2 separate regions of the Homo sapiens genome follow, and region 1 is linked to region 2. Evidence: promoter capture Hi-C in human tissues and cell types (Jung and others, 2019). All regions are on one chromosome and are shown on one strand. Each heading gives the region's core, a stretch centred on a gene start or on the middle of the fragment in contact. The rest is flanking DNA. Distances are from core to core; before and after follow the strand shown.

Evidence for each region. The method cuts DNA at HindIII sites, captures the fragments that hold promoters and counts their contacts. A contact is called where the count stands out against the background at its distance.
Region 1: a contact is called between a fragment that was not itself captured here and the fragment with the promoter of LIMA1 in region 2, in 1 of the 25 tissues and cell types used here (pancreas).

Annotation. Positions count from the first base shown.
Region 1 is chr12:49,271,319-49,276,290 of GRCh38, reverse strand. It overlaps TUBA1C (tubulin alpha 1c), which reads right to left. Exons shown (of 4, transcript NM_032704.5): 4 at 1,691-4,038. The coding sequence ends at 3,064. Among named protein-coding and RNA genes, the nearest start is that of TUBA1C, 8.7 kb to the right of the region's middle. RefSeq lists a silencer at 2,011-2,305. The HindIII fragment of the contact is 6,713 bases long and covers 1-4,972 here.
Region 2 is chr12:50,281,396-50,286,065 of GRCh38, reverse strand. It overlaps LIMA1 (LIM domain and actin binding 1), which reads left to right and starts at 2,546. Exons shown (of 11, transcript NM_016357.5): 1 at 2,546-2,646. It overlaps LOC107984505 (a long non-coding RNA gene), which reads right to left and starts at 2,445. Exons shown (of 2, transcript XR_001749144.2): 1 at 2,184-2,445. RefSeq lists a silencer at 2,326-2,635. The HindIII fragment of the contact is 3,196 bases long and covers 720-3,915 here.

The DNA of each region.
Region 1 (4,972 bases), core at 1,942-4,441, 1.0 Mb after region 2:
ACCTTTTTCACATCTTGGCACATGTAGAAAATAATTCATCTGTAAGGTGTACAGAGGTAAATGGAGGGGGCTACTCCTGGCCAGGGTGACTGGCCCCAGGGAGGATGGGTGAGTCAGGCTCTCCAGTTTCCACCATGTCATTCTAAAAGCCGAAGGGATCCTATATGGGCACCCTGAATCCTATTCTCAGGGCACCCTGCTTGGGAAATGCTGGTGTCATGGGGTGTCACACTCGCCTAAGCTTTGTGATTTATCTGCTCCTTTTCATACACGGGTGTCCCATTCCCATTTCCTCCAGTGCTTGCACTATGGCAATCAGCAGATCTCCTGGCCTGGGAAGGTCTCAAAATCCCCTCTGGCAGGCTAGCCAGCGTCTTCAAGGTTCACCTTCATTTCAGGCATCCCACCCCGCTCCCCTGCCCAGGCTGCAGGAAGAACCTGGCTCATCTGAGAAGTAGCAGTGGCTGAATTTGTGCTGGGGTCTTACCTTGCCCCGAAGGACATAAAACTATGGTTGCTCTCGACAAATGCTATATAAAACCATCCAGAGCACATAGTTGAGGCATCTCAGGCTGCAAAAGCATGCTGTGCTATGCACGCAGGTATAATATATACATTTAAAAAAATTTGAGACATAAAAAAAAATTTAAGGGAAAAAAATTTTTTGTCCCTTAGGCTGGAGGGCAGTGGCACGATCTCAGCTCACTGCTACCTCCACCTCCCAGGCTCAAGCAATCCTCCCACTTCAGCCTCTCAAGCAGCTGGGACCACAGACGTGCACCACCATGCCCAGCTAATTGTTTGTATTTTTAGTAGAGATGGGGTTTCACCATATTGCCCAGGCTGGTCTTGAACTCCTAAGCTCAAGTGATCCACCTGCTTCAGCCTCCCAAAGTGCCGGGATTACAGGCGTGAGCCATGGTACCCGGCCAAAAAAATGCTCAAAATAGACAGGGTCTCACCCTCTTGCCCAGGCACTGGTCTCAGACTCTTGGGTTTAAGCAATCCTCTCACCTTGGCCTCCCAGAGTGCTGGGACTGCAGCTGTGAACCCCAGCGCTGGCCTTAAACATGCACATCTTTCAGATGCAATTCTCAGAGCAAAGGGGCTAAAGTGAGCAATGGGTAAGGGATACAAAACACCTTTGGGAAAGAGATGGTAACTGGGTACACATCAGAATAAAGTAAGTCACGGAGGAGAGGTGAGTATGCCTGCAACTCTGCCCCCAGGGCCCATCTGCTACCACTCATTAGGCATTCCCACTCAGGCAAGCACCCAAGCACCAAAACTGATTCCTCCCTTCTGCATGAAGCTTCACCTTTTGGTCATTGTCCTTTCCCATTGCTTAGTTCAACTGAGTACCAGGCACCAAGCTCTCCAGCTACGTATAACACTCATGCCCCTTCACCCGTCTGCCCCCAAGAACCACGGTCCTCCAACAGGTGCTTGGAAAAAAGTCCAAATCAGAGAACTCACCCCTCTCCAATCTTTCCTACACATACATATTACTCCTACTTCAAATAATCTCCATGACATACAATTGGGTCAAATGCCAATACCAGAAAAACCGGTGACTGTTATTTTGTCTGACATTTCCACTTTCTCTAAACAATAACCCCTTTAGTACGAACCATCTTTGCCACTGTAGGTCTTAGCTAAGTATGGAATAAATCAGGATTCCAAGCCCTTCTCGTGTGACTAATACTTTATTAAAGACTGACAGCAATAGTTCTGGCAGTGTGGCTGGGCACTTGAATTTTGGCTCCAGCAGTTACTGTTATCTAACCCTTTGCTACTGTACATGTGGTCACATCAGACCAACAGCATCATTTGGGAGGTTATTAAAAAACGTATCTAGGGGCCAGGTGTAGTGGCTCACTCCTGTAATCCCAGCACTTTGGGAGGCTGAGGCAGGATTGCCTGAGCCCAGGAGTTCAAGGCCAGCCTAAGCAACATGGCAAAACCCCATCTCTACCAAAAAAAAAAAAAAAAAAAAAAAAAAAAATTACAAGAATCAGCCAGGCATGGTGGAACACACCTGTAGTCCTGGCTACTTGGGAGGCTGAGGTGGGAGGATGGCTTAGCCCAGGTCAAGGTGGGGGTGAGCTATGATGGTGCCATTGCACTGCAGCCTGGGAAAGAGACCATCTCAAAGAAAAAAAATTTAAGACGTGTCTGAAGCCTCACCTCAAGCCTATAGAATTAGAACCTGCATTTTGTTTTTAAATTTGAGAGTCAGGGGTCTCCGTCACCCAGGCTGGAATGCAGTGGTGCAATCATGGCTCACTACCTCAACCTCCTTGGGCTCAGGTGGTCCTCCCACCTATAGGCAGGTGCCATCACAGCATGCAAATTTTTGTTTTGGTAGAGATGGGTTTTCACCATGTTGCCCAGGCTGGTCTCGAATTCCTGGGCTCGTGATCCACCCAACTTGGCCTCCCGAAGTGCATGAGCCACCAGGTTGACCCCAAACCTGCATTTTAATATCTACAGGTGATTCACATCCATTTTAGTTAGAGAAGCACTGGCTCAATCTGAACCCGTTTCCTCACTTACAAAATGATTCTATAACCACTTAATTCAGGCCCAAATTAAACAGATAAACCAAGAAGCTGGGCAGTGGCTCATGCCTATAATCAAAACTTTGAGAGGTTGAGGCAGGAGGATCACTTGAAGCCAGTTGAAGACCACCCTGGGCAGCATAGCAAGGCCCCATCTCTACAAGAAATAAAAATAGCTGGGCATGGTGGTGTGCACCTGCAGTCCCCAGCTACTTAGGAGGCTGAAGCAGGAGAATCACATGAGTCCAGGAGCTCGAGGCTGCAATGAGCTATGTATTATCATGCCACTGCACTCCAGCCTGGGTGACAGAGCAAGACCCTCGACTCAGGTGGTTTCATCTACCAGCCTCATACATCCAACTTTAACTGGATCAAGTATTTAAGTCAGCTCGACATTTAAAATGGAAACTTCAATTTTATTAACAATTTACGGCAATAGACATTTACAGAACAAAAATAAGACAGTTCCAAGACAAAGGAGTGTAAAAGTACAGCACACAGGTTAATACTCTTCACCCTCATCCTCTCCGTCAGCACTATCTGCTCCAACCTCCTCATAATCCTTCTCAAGGGCAGCCATGTCCTCACGGGCCTCTGAAAACTCGCCTTCCTCCATCCCCTCACCCACGTACCAGTGAACAAAGGCACGCTTGGCATACATCAGGTCAAACTTGTGGTCCAGGCGAGCCCAGGCCTCGGCAACAGCTGTGGTATTGCTCAGCATGCACACAGCTCTCTGTACCTTGGCCAGGTCTCCGCCAGGCACCACAGTGGGAGGCTGGTAATTAATGCCAACCTTGAAGCCAGTGGGGCACCAATCCACAAACTGGATGGTACGCTTGGTTTTGATGGTGGCAATGGCAGCATTGACATCTTTGGGAACCACGTCACCACGGTATAACAGGCAGCAAGCCATGTATTTACCATGGCGAGGGTCACATTTCACCATCTGGTTGGCTGGCTCAAAGCAAGCATTGGTGATCTCTGCTACAGTAAGCTGTTCGTGGTAGGCTTTCTCAGCAGAGATGACAGGGGCATATGTGGCCAGAGGGAAGTGGATGCGGGGGTAGGGCACCAGGTTGGTCTGGAATTCTGTCAGGTCAACATTCAGGGCTCCATCAAATCTCAGGGAAGCAGTGATGGAGGACACAATCTGGCTAATAAGGCGGTTAAGGTTAGTGTAGGTTGGGCGCTCGATATCGAGGTTTCTACGACAGATGTCATAGATGGCCTCATTGTCTACCATGAAGGCACAATCAGAGTGCTCCAGGGTGGTGTGGGTGGTGAGGATGGAGTTGTAGGGCTCAACTACAGCTGTGGAAACCTGGGGCGCCGGGTAAATGGAGAACTCCAGCTTGGACTTCTTGCCATAATCAACTGAGAGACGTTCCATGAGCAGCGAGGTGAACCCAGAACCAGTTCCCCCACCAAAGCTGTGGAAAACCAAGAAGCCCTGAAGACCGGTGCACTGGTCAGCCTGCAAAATAAAAAAGTTTCATTTTAGTGTTGCGAAAGTTTCATTTAGTGTTCACATTTGGTGAAACCTACAGAGGACTTCTATAAATCTATGGCTACTCCAATTGCAATTTTAAAACTCTTCTGGGCCAGGCGCAGTGGCTCACGCCTGTAATCAACACTTTGGGGGTCCAAGGTGGGAGGACCATTTGCATTTGAGCCCAGGGGTTCAAGACTGATGATCAGGCCACTGCACTCCAGCCTGGATGACAGAGCAGACCCTGTCTCCAAAAAAAAAAAAAAGCTTTTAAGTGCTAAGTGATTCAGAACAACTTTTCACAATCAAGTCCTTGAGCAGAAAAACCTTTGCTAAGACTATTTTAAGATGAACTATTGCCTTAGGCAGAGGAATCACAAGGCCTGGGCTTGCATACAGGGCTCAAGTTTTGGTAACTGGGAAGGCAGCCTCTGGTTCTCTTGCTGTGGCCACAGAACAGGGCAGTTTCTTAGTTGGAGAGGTCCTAAGGGGCAGGCCCAGGACCACCAGCCTGGTACAGTGGATGTCTTGTAAAGATTTGGCAGCTGCTTTCTGAGGTGGAACAACAGAATAGCCAAAGTTCTAACACCCTGGTACTGGAGTCAGGCTGTGTCAGGATCCGGCTGTACCAGTTCCTTACTGTATGACCACATTCATTTCTCAGTTCTTCCACTGATTAAGTGAGAATAGTAATCACCTTAGGTTGAGAATTAAGTAAGTACTCAGCATAGTGCTTGGCACAGTAAGCACAGTATTGGCCCAGTAAGCCAATATATGACACTAGGTACCAAGAAGCCCATTTATTTTGGGTAAAGTGACACAACCACAATTCCATGAGACCTCAGGTTGTTGGGGATTTCCTCCACCTAACTGGGCTATTTTGGTTAGCAAACTGCTACTTTACGAAGGAATGATTTTG
Region 2 (4,670 bases), core at 1,297-3,796:
GTAAAGACAGGGTTTTGCCATGTTGGCCAGGCTAGTCTCTAACTCCTGGCCTCAAGTGATCCCTGCCTGGGCCTCCCAAAGTGCTGGGATTACAGGTGTGAGCCACTGCACCTGGCCCATGCCCATTCTTTAAGTATTGTCTATGGCTACTTTGGCACATTTGGCACTACAGTGAGAGCTGAGTAGCTGTGACAGAGACTATAAGTCCCACAAAGCCTAAAATATTTACTATTTGGCTGTTTACACAAAAGGTTTGCTAACATATGGTCTAGAAAAATCAACAAAACAATAAATCACGCCCTGACTTGCTGCATTTGCCCATTTCCATGGTGTAAATACTCCCCTTACAGCCAATTTCGTGCTACCAATGTGACATTTCTGAATAGAGTTGGGAAGAGATGCATACAACATATGTAGTATTTCCACAGGGAATACAATGGACAAATAACCTCAAGAGCAGAATTATTAGTAAAATGAAGAAAAAAACTACAAAGTGATGAGTTTTTAATATTTATTATATTTAAAAATTTTTTTTTAGAAATAGGGTCTCACTCTGTTGCCCAGGCTGGAGTGCAGTGGTGTGATCATAGCTCACTGCAACATCAAACTTCTAGCCTCAAGCCATCTTCCCGCCTTAGCCTCCCAAAGCACTGGGATTACAAATGTGACTCAACATGCCTGGCCTATTACTTTTATTTTTAAGATAATTTAATTGTAGCTTATATAATTTGATTTCTAATAATGGTTGTGCTTATGACCTGGCTCATAAAATCCCTGAAAATTTAGCAATCAACCTAATGCTAGCTCTATCTTCAAAAGGAGGCTTTGGGAAAGCAAGTAATTTTTGTATCCACTAAAGCACAGAGCTAAAAAAAATTGGGGGGAGGGGAGACATCTATTGAGGGAACGCCACATGCAGGGTAACGTATTTTCTGGAGTACTATCCTGTATTGATATTGTATGCTCTTTAGCATTCCCATGCTGTCTGCCACTTTTGCTGGAGTCTTGATACTTGATACTGTTAATGCAAAATAAGTAGCAGGCCATTAGTTTGGAGTTGTTTTTGTACCCAGAAAGCAACCCAAAATTTAGAGGTATTCCTTGCACCTTTTGTTTGTTTTGTTTTTTTGAGATGGAGTCTCGTTCTCTCATCCAGGCTGGAGTGCAGTGGCGAGATCTCTGCTCACTGCAATCTCCACTTCCCGGGTTCAAGTCATTCTCGTGCCTCAGCCTCCCGAGTAGCTGGGATTACAGGCACTTACCACCACGTCCGGCTAATTTTTGTATTTTTAGTGGAGACGGTGCTTCGCCATGTTGGCTAGGCTGGTCTCGAACTCCTAACCTCAGGGGATCCGCCTGCCTCAGCCTCCCAAAGTGCTGGGATTACAGGTGTGAGCCACCGCGCCCGGCCCCTTGTACCTGATTTTGAATGGAGTTTCAACCAATCACAAACAGACAACCAGCCAAGTGGTTATATAATTAGGGACCTCCCATGTGACCATACCCAAATAAGGCAAACGCTTAGCTGTAGCCAATCAAATTTCTTTACTTTCGTGTTCAGCCTATAAAGTTTGATGCCTGGGCAGCTAGAGCAGGGGTGTCTGAGCCTCTTTTGGTTCTGACTGTTGTCCGATTCAAAATCTAAGTTTGTTTTGTCTGAAATTTTTATTTCTACAATACCTATCCAGAAATCAGTCTAGGCTGGATATTTGAAGGAAGAAGGGAATAACTGGCTGGCATATTCATCACCTGTTGGAAATCTCTCTTCTCACACATTTTCATTAACTTCTTGAGGAAGTGTAATTACAAGCGTTTTCCCACGAGCAGCCCCTACTAATAACGCATCAAGCTGCATGAATTCCGAAAAGCTTCAGAAAACTTGTGGTCTGAAACCCTACTATGCTTGAGGTACAGGAAAGAAGGATACTATCAAAAGGCATCATGCAGCTGGCACGGAACTGGGACAAGAATTTGGGGGCAGGATGGCCAAGTGCTAGGCCAATTGACGGTCTCCAAACCATTAGCACAGCTCCTATTCTGAATGGAGGAGTAAAAACAGCTGTTGGAGAACTTGGACGTCATCTGCCCTTGTCAAACCGTTTTCAGGATTAATGTACTTAATTCAGCTTTTTCCACTACACCACACAGCCTCCTGTAAAACACCCTCCCTGCACACAACTTACCCCCAAAGCACCAGGAACCTAGCTGGCTAGAGTTGAGCTTAGGAAAAACCTGAGTGGCTCCAGAGTCAAACTGCGATAACGTTGAGTCAGAGGAGTTAAGGACAAAGTAGAGCTGCACAGAGGCCCACGTCGTGCAAGTGCGTGTCTCCTTCAGAGAAAAGCGTGCCGAGGTAGACTAGGCCCCGGGCAGCAAAAACCCTGTCCCGTCGCCAGCGCCCCGCACCGCCAGAGCGACTGGAGCAGACGCGAGCGCTGGGCACGTAGCCGGTGGCGCGCACGCTCAGCCCGAGGCCGCACGGGAGGCTGTCTGGCGTGCGCGCCCCCGCGGCGGTGGGCGGGGTCCGGGGCGGGGCCGCAGGAGCAGTAGGTGTTAGCAGCTTGGTCGCGACAGGTGCGCTAGGTAGAGCGCCGGGACCTGTGACAGGGCTGGTAGCAGCGCAGAGGAAAGGCGGCTTTTAGCCAGGTAAGGGCCTTCTCTCTCCACAACCGGAGAGTGCGGGAAGACCCCGGCTTCTCTCCACACCCTCTTTCTCCTTCGACTTTTGGGGCGGGGGGAGTGCAAGGAGTGTGAGTCCCTCCCCCTCGAGATAAGGGGTCGAGGGACGCTGATCCTCCGTTCTTTCCTCACTTCTGGGGCCTGCGCTGGGTGGGGAGTGCTTATGTCGGGCTGAGCCTTTGCTGCCCAAGGGCGGGAGCTGCAAATACCCCGTCCTCTCCCACCGAGAACACTGCATTCTAACTGTATACTTTCTGGTGTGGTGGAGGAAGGTGACAATTCATTAAAACTCCAAATACCCTCCTTCCAGGGAAATACTGTAATATTCAACTGTTCTTTTTCCTTCATTTTCAGCCATTCCCTCTCTTTTCGATTTTTTCTCCCTTCCATTACGCCAGCTGAACTCTGTTTAAGACACTTACACCCTTTTGAGGAATGTTGAGAATATAGCAGTCCTTGCAGCCGATGTGTCATCCCCGAATCGCTATCGTGTATATATCGCTGGCACTTGCCCCCGACATATGTTGGTGTTAATGTAAGGTAATTGTACACCCCTGGCTACACATACTAAAGCTTGAAGTTGTAGCTGCTAGGAACGAACCATCTGGCACCCTTCCTAGCCTCCTTACTGATGCTTGCAAGAACGGTTTAGCTGATCCTGGTGAGAGATATTTGAACTACTATTGTCTTGCACCTAATTCCAGCTTTCAAAAGTCTGCCTTGGACGGGCGCAGTGGCTCACGCCTATAATCCCAACACTTTGGGAAACTGAGGCGGGAGGATCGCTTGAGCCCAGGTGTTTGAGACCAGCCAAGGCAACTTAGCGAGACCCTTGTCTCTACAAAAAAATAAATAAATAAATAAAAATAAAAGATAAGTCTGCCTAATCCAGATCTGCCTAATCCAGATGGTTCAATTGACTTGACTTTTCAGGTTAGTCAAAGGTAATTAGGGAGTTATCAGTTTTTAAGGCAATGCCCATTTTGGGGAGAGGTTTTCTTTTGCATTAAGTATTCTTTCTTTTGCTCTTGATTTAAATGGTTTAACACAGTACCTTTTATCTGCTTGGTTACCAATACTATTCACAAATGCTAAATATTTCAGGAGCCATGAAATAACACCAATCCTTTCTTCTGAGGTATGATGTAGACACAAAAGAACATGACCCCTAACAACATGTTCTAAGTTCCTGTAGAGGTATAACCTGGGTGCAGGATGATCACGTTTTAGATAGATCTTCAAAAAATTATAGAGTTGGCGTGAAAGAAGGCAAAAAAAAGTGTGTGTTCATATATGTTTTCTTGTTTTGCATTGATAGAACAACATATAATGTACTAGGTAATTAGTTTAGGAACTTATTTCATTCTTTGGACAAAATATTGAGTGCCTTTCATGTCAGTCCTACTGTAGATTCAAAGTGCCAAACGTCTTTACCCTAAAAGAACTTAAAATCAAATGGGTTAGACAGATCCACATACAATTTATGGTATTAGTGAGGTCATTTCTATACTAGAGGTCAGCCCAGGGTACTGTAGGAGCATAGGGAATATAGGTGTTTTGTTTTGTTTTTTAATTCTCTCTTCTGCTTTTCCTTAAAAACAAAAACCTCTGAGTAATAATGAGTGATTCTCTTCAATCTATGTATTTGTATCACTTTCATATTTCTTACCCTCTCTTCCTCCAATTCTATGGCCTATGGAAAATGGGATTAGACCCTGTTGTTAATGTGGCATTTAGTAAATAGTTGGATCTGTTTCCACTGTTCTGTATTGGGCTGGGAAGTGTTGTTATCAGGTAGTCCCTGGGAAGAGAACAGTATATTGGCAACATTAGCAAAGGAGTGCCATTTTGTAAAAATTACCTCATTGTATAACTTTCTTTAACTTGGTACACTCAAGCTTTGTTCCAGACTCTGGTTAAAGGTGGGGCTAAATTTCAACCTAATAATTCTAAAAGAAAGCTTCAGAAGCTAAAACAATTCACATCTTGGT